2 separate regions of the Homo sapiens genome follow, and region 1 is linked to region 2. Evidence: promoter capture Hi-C in 16 types of primary human blood cells and fetal thymus (Javierre and others, 2016). All regions are on one chromosome and are shown on one strand. Each heading gives the region's core, a stretch centred on a gene start or on the middle of the fragment in contact. The rest is flanking DNA. Distances are from core to core; before and after follow the strand shown.

Region 1 (3,412 bases), core at 656-3,155, 290 kb after region 2:
TTTAGCCAGATCAATCATCATGTTAATGTCACACCCACATTCAATAATGGTGAGTCTGCGCTTTTTACCTATAAGTGAAAAGATGAAAATTTTACTTTAAAAAGACCCTGAAAAAACTCTAACCATCAACTCTTAATTTTCATTTTTTAACTGCATCCAGTAAAACATCATATACATTTACAGGAGCATACAAGAAGTTCATTTTTACAGGCAAAAACTGATAAAATAAAATAAATTCCATTCTGTTTTTCTTGCTGTGTTCTAAATTTAAATAACATCAAAAGTCTACCCAGATGAATAAAAGTGCTCAAAAAGGGAAAATTCTGACTGCACAGACTCCATGATAACCATGATCCTGCTGTTCAGCTGCAGGCCCAATGTCTTTGCCTCTATCAAAACTTCCCGTATTCCCACTAGAGCTACAAACATCCTCAAACATAATGCAACAGAATATTCATAACAATAATTACTTCTAAATTAAGGTAAAAATAAAACAGTCAAGAAAATATGGGCTGGGCACAGTAGCTCTCGCCTGTAGTCCCAGCAACTTGGGAGGCCAAGGCAGGCGGATCCCTTGAGCCCAGGAGTTTTGAGACCAGCCTGGGCCATATGGGGAAACCCCATCTCTACAGAAAAAAAAAAAAAAGGAAAAAAAAGAAAAATTAGCCAGGCGTGGTGGCATACACTACTCAGGAGGCTAAGGTAGGAGGAATGCTTGAACCTGGGAGGTAGAGGCTGCAGTGAGCCGTAATCACACCACTGCACTCCAGCCTGTACCACAGAGTAAGACTCTGTCTCAAAAAAGGGAAAAGAAAATATGGATGCTCCAAAGATAAAGAAAAGCCTCAATCCAACTATATTATTGCAATAACAAGAGATTTCAGAGTGTACATTGCCATTCTACCACTGGAAGTTTGTTTCATTTTCCCTCAAACTCGGAAAGGTCACCATCTCCCAAAGCAGACAATTCTCACAGGAAAAAGAGAAAACTCGCACTTCCACCAGAATGTGGCTTCATAAGGCAAGCATATGCACCTGGCACATAGGAGGTGCGTGCTATCTGTTAAATGATGTGTTCACGGTGACTAGGCCTGCTAGGCCCTTCCAAGGAACATGTTTGGCAAAGCCAAAGAGCAGTCAGGATAAGACATAGTGAACATTATCATTTCTCATACAAAAAATGGAGGAGGAAACCAGGAAGAAAAGGAAAGCATCACCTTAAGAGGCTGGACCACACATCCTTCTACACGGAGGAAGAGGACTGTGGCTGGTGTCGCAATCGAGCAGCAAAGCTTGATTTTCCAGCCCGAGTGCTGGGTTCGAGTATCTTCCTGCCTTGGAACCTCCCAGAGTGCTGGGAGGAAATGTGAACATTATCACATCCTTATCTCTGGGAACTTACCCTTTTCTGAAGCTATAGCCAACTTAGTAATACTAAGTATAAGAGAAGTCCCATGATATGACAATATTTAACATGTTCCACTCAAGAAAACAACAAACGCATGCATGTCCCTCAGATGACAACAGCCACGCCAACTCTGTGTCTGTGGTGGCATCTCCTACCTGACACAATCGTCACAGGGCCTCTGATCTCAGTCAACTTCTGCCGGGTAAAGTTCCGAATGAGGCATTGTATCAAAGTGCTCTTTCCAACTTTTGGAGGTCCCATCACCACTACCACTATTGGTGGGGGCTCTAGTGGAGTTCGATCAACCACTGGAATATGATGCTTTTTTGTCTTCAAATCCTGAGTCCTATTCATTAAAAAATAAACAAATAAATAAATAGTAAACTCATTTTCAAAATAGAGTAAAAGGTATCAACCTTATAAGTAGACTTTTTTGGTACACTTATAGCTATGAGTACTTTAGCACATTTTATAGAGAGTACAACAGACAATATATAAATATAATTAACTTGTCAATTATTAACTTGCTAACTTCTGGCCCCATCCAAATAATTGCTGTTCAATAAAGATGTAACAAGATGACTTCAATACTATAGAGAGCGAAAATTAAACACTCCTTAAATCTGACTGTTTTAAGAGTGATTTTAATAGTTTTTTAAAAAACCAAAAGGTAAATAGCGAGGCAGTACATCATAGCAGATAAGAGCAGAGGCGCTGGAGTTACATTTAGCTCTCCTACTTACTGGTTATATGATTGGAGGTAACTTGTTTTCTTGATCTCAGTTTTCTTACCCATAAAATGAGGGCAAGAATGATTCCTACTCTGGTAAGGCTGCTGGAAGGATTTAGTTGAATAATGTTTAAAGTACACTGCTAGGCATATCACAAGGGCTCACTAAATAAAGCTATGTTAGTATTAAATATTGTAATTTTTGTATTTTATATTACAACTATGTAAAACATACCTGGGGGGAAAAAGCACACTTATCACCATAGAAACAGTTTAAAATTTAGGAACAAACAAAGTCTATAAATTCTTGTATCCTGGGCAATAAACACTAACCAGTATGCAGATGCTGGAGGCAAGGCAGCTTCTATGGGAAAAGCTTCTCACGTTTTAGTGAAAGCCACACACCATGAATCTCCATGTCCTTTGGAGCTGGACTAGACTCGTGAATCCAAATGTCACCTGTGAGAGGCTCCTACTATTTAAAAAAAGAATCAATGGAAGAATGACCAGACCGTAGCCTAACATACCTGTGAAAGGATCGAGCCATCCGCACAGCAGACTGAACTGCAAAAGCTTTGGGATTTCTCTTCCGGGCATCTTCTTCGTCTCCTAGCTGGAGATCCTGCAGAAGCCGCTTCTTTTTCTTTGCAGCTTTGGGTCCACTGTTTTTCTTTCTGTGTTTCTTCTGGTCCTTAGCCTCCATAGTGGCTATTTACCAATAACAAGTAACTCTAACCTACAAGGAAGAAGGTTGGGGTAAGGAGATGGGAGAAGCATTTTACAATCCAGGCAATACCCAGGGAAAAACAGTAAATTTCATTTATTTCTTTATGAAGAGATGATGTATTTGTTCACTGAACAAGGGTAGAAACTGCTTAACCATCCCCAATTTCATTTCTCTCTGTTATGCTATAAATTAGATGAGTTACCTCTCTTAAGATTACATTTTATGGTTAAGTTACTTTTTATTCATCTTAAGTGTCAACATCAGCAGTATCTATTTCTGCAAGGATAGAAATATACTATATCTGTACTTTTCAGCCATTTAGCCATTAGCCACATGTGGTTACTTACAATATACTTAGGGAAACTGAAAAAATGAGTTTTTAATTAATTTCATTCTAACTCCAAATAGTCACATGTGGCTACCATACTGGACAGCTCAGACCCAGGTATCAACTGGACTGATGAAGTGGTTTCCTAACTTAAACTAAAACTTAAATTTTAATAAAAAAATGTGAAACGTTTTTATGAACCTCCAATATGATCGCAGT
Region 2 (3,445 bases), core at 13-2,512:
GAAAGCCCTTTGTAAGGAGTGAGGGAGGATGGCCAGGGCTCCTTCCCTCTTAGAGGGAAACTTGGTTCATACACAAGCGCTTGGAGGGGATCAAGTCAGGGCCAGTTTGAGGGACACTTAAACGCGTGCCAAGGGGTCAAAGATTCCACAGCCTTGCGGCTCACTCTGCCAGAGTTTGGGTGGGGTCGATGACCATCTTTGCAAGGCCACACCTAATGCTGGGATCCTAAGGCACCTGAGGTTTCACCAGGCCCAGCACCAACGCTGGCTGGCGGCGCAAACCCCTGCCCCACCCCAAGCCCTGGGCCTCCTATGGCCGCATCTTCAGCATCTCTGCCAGGCAGCGCCACACGACTCCAGGGCTGCCGGGTGGGACGCCTATCACGGCGGCCCCTCGGGGGGAGCCACCCCAGAAACCACGGTTTTTAGGTGTTTAAAGACAGGGCGGCAAAAACGCACGAGGGAAAAGCAATCTTTTCAAAAGAGCCTCCGAATCCCTCGGCTGGCCAGGACGGCAGAGCTGGGGGAGGAACGCACGGACGCTGAGCGGGAAAAGGAAACCAGGACGGAGCCGTCTCCTGCCGAAACAGAACTCTCCGCACGAATCGCGGGCTTTCGGGGCTCCCTGACCCGTCCGCCAGGTCGGCCCCGAAACGGCTGTCCCGTTTGCTCCAGGACGCGGCTTTGGCGCAGGGCGCGGCCAGATTGAGACCTGCGGCTATGGCTAGGGTTCTGAGCACCGACCCCCGCGGCCCGGCCCGCGCTCCGCTCCCGCCCGAGACCCGCCCAGCCCCGGCCCGAGGCGCCCGGCCCGAGGCGTCCTGCCCTTCGCCCGCCGCCCGCCGCAGCCACTGCGCTCCCAGCCGAGGCCGGGTGGCCGGCGACCGCACAGCCCGCTGCCCACGGCAAACAGAAAGGCGCTTCTGAACGCGCCCGCTCCGCTGCTCGGCGCCAACTTCGCCCTGGCCCCTGCGGGAGCCGGCGGCCGGCAGAACTCACCTTTGCCTAGCAGCGGCAGCAGCAGCAGCAACAGCAGACGCAGCCCCGCGGCACCGGACGTCGCCTTCGCCATCGCCCGTGCGCGCTGGGGCCACGGCTGGAGGGACTGCGGCTAGGGCCGGCGGGTCTGGATGGCGGGTGCGGCGCTCAGTCTGGCCGCCCCATCCCCGCCCGGGGCGCGGCGGACGCGACGGACACTGGGGGCGCGACGCACGTTCCGGGGCACTCAGCGCTGCTGCGCGCCCTGCTTCGGTCGCGGGACTGAAGCGAGGTAAGCGCCGGCTGCGCCGGAGGAGCGGGTAGGGGCGGGGCGGGGCGGGGGCGGTCCAGGGGTGGGCCAGGCGGGGCCGGAGGCGGGTGGGGTGCGGGAAGGGGCGGGGCTCCAGTGCTTGCTCTGGCTGCGCGGGGTGCGGCCGGGGCGCGGCGCGTGTAGGAGCTCAGTGCGGGACGCGCGGCTTGGGCCGGGTGGGGCTTGGGGAGGAGCGGGGTGCGGGAGCGGGGTGCGGCCGAAAAGGGCCCGGCAGGAGCCGGGTGCGGACCCCGAGGTGCGCGGCGGGGATGGAACCCAGGAGCCCGGGTCCGCGCACCTACGCAGAGCCGCTCTTCCTACCCGGTGCGCGCCCGCTTGCAGTCCCTGCCTTTTGCCCTTTCCGCTGCACAGAGAGGGCAGGGATGCTACGCGGGATGCAGGTCTGGCCGACTGGCTCGGGGTGCGACCCCGCGGACTCAGAGAAGGGCGCCCCGCCTCCAGGCTCTCCGCGGAGCGCTTGCTGCGCCATTTCTCAGAGGCGAGAGGCGCAGTGGGAGCGCGGCCTCTGCTGGGGCCGGAGGCAGGAGGCGGGGAAGAGCTGAGCAGGGGAAGAGAGGCAGAATAGCCTTTTTCAGCATCCTGGGGTAGTAGAGAGGGTAGGGTCCTGGAAGGGCAGTTTGTGATTCCCCCCTCCAGCACTGGTCCAACCCTTGGAAACCGGAAACTGGCTCCGGCGTCCTTTCAGAGACCTGGTGCTGGTGGCCCTTGCATCCCTTACACAGGAGAACTCTCAGGAGATGGGCTGGCAGAGTCGGAGAGCGAGTAGCGAGGAGGAGGAAAGAATCCAATTTTCCCCCAAAGAAATGATGGAAATGATGCGCATAAACACATTTACCCCTAATAGGGAGCAGCAACTGGACCTGAGAAGGGGTTCTGGGTGAGGTTGGATGTGGGCTCAGTGGGGAAGTCCTCTGTTCTCGCCCCATCCCCGGCTGCTTTTTGAGGTCTGGCCTGCACTTAGGCGCAGAGGGATGGAAGAAGGGAAGCCCATGGGCCCTTGAGGAGGAAAAGCCAGGGAACCTGGGCCCAGGGCACCCTTGAGCCAGCCGCTCCCTTGCTTGCTGTGTGCAGAACCCCGCCCTCTTGCCTGGCTGAGCTCAGGGCTGAATAAGTGATCTGCACATCACTGCAGATATGAAGTCAAAGTGAAGTCACCCTCACAGGCAGGAGGGGGAGCTGCCAAGACAGAGGCTGGCTTGCACTCAGCCAACCGTGATGTCCAGACCTGGCTTGCTGAGGGGCAGGTGGCCGGGGCACAGGCCTGCCAGCCCAGGAGAGACACTGTGGGCCACTGGACTCCGGCTGCCTGCCACACCCTTCCAGTTTATGGAGCTAGAGTTGGCCACAAGGGGCTCCCTTGGGTTCAGACAGGTTCCATCTCTGGTGCCAGTGGCTACCTAGGCTACACACTCAGGCCTGTGCCCAGGGAAGGGACCTGATAGGTAGGGAGGGGCTGGGGGCATCTTTTGGCTACAGACAAGCTCCTGTGATTGCCTCCTAGGTGAATGAAGAGAGAAGTGGGTAGGCTTAAATAGCCCCACCCCTGCACCTCCCGGGGACCACCCTGGCCAGCCCTTGGCTGACATTGATGTCTGGCTGGGCTCTGTGTGGCCATCTTAAGGGGCCATCTGGGGCTGTGCTCCTGCCTAGCCTACCTTAGGCCTTTCCACGCTCTCGCTCCACCCTCACCCTTGGGGGTCCTGAGTGAACACCTGACACTATGAGAGGGTGTCATTTACTCCTTGGAAAAAGGTCTGGGGGGCCCTCACATGGGTGTACCCTGTACACATGCATACATGCATACACCTGTGTTCCCATACGTGGACACACACGCACACAGATGCATACCTCCCTGCTACGTGCACGCCCAGGGATCTGACCAAAGGGTCGCTCAGCAGAGGACAGTTGTGAGGCCCAGAGCCTGCTGGCCTCAGGGACTGCGGGGAAAGGAGATTCAGCCCTGCCTGGGTGTAGGCTCAGTATCCAGAACATCAGGCAGCAGGAAGGAGCTCCTTGCCCAGCAGAGGGGAAGCGAGGCCACCCCCTGAGGTCTCACAAGGGGAGGTGGGGGCCAGGTGAAGTGCAAAGCAGACGTGCCGGTCTTTGGCTGCCCAGGAGTCCTGGCCCTGGCTTCTC

What was found. Contacts are between HindIII fragments. The CHiCAGO score rates a contact against its expected background, and 5 or more counts as called.
Region 1: a contact is called between a fragment that was not itself captured here and the fragment with the promoter of RET in region 2, in 1 of 17 cell types (M1 macrophages). The highest score is 6.0, in M1 macrophages.

Annotation. Positions count from the first base shown.
Region 1 is chr10:42,783,824-42,787,235 of GRCh38, reverse strand. BMS1 (BMS1 ribosome biogenesis factor) reads right to left here. Exons shown (of 23, transcript NM_014753.4): 2 at 2,666-2,874; 3 at 1,564-1,754; 4 at 1-68. The coding sequence starts at 2,841. Among named protein-coding and RNA genes, the nearest start is that of BMS1, 2.7 kb to the right of the region's middle. The HindIII fragment of the contact is 1,222 bases long and covers 1,295-2,516 here.
Region 2 is chr10:43,074,886-43,078,330 of GRCh38, reverse strand. It overlaps RET (ret proto-oncogene), which reads right to left and starts at 1,262. Exons shown (of 20, transcript NM_020975.6): 1 at 1,000-1,262. The coding sequence starts at 1,072. RefSeq lists enhancers at 1-907, 1,216-2,073, 1,939-2,205 and promoters at 1,040-1,338, 1,040-1,723. The HindIII fragment of the contact is 20,268 bases long and covers 1-3,445 here.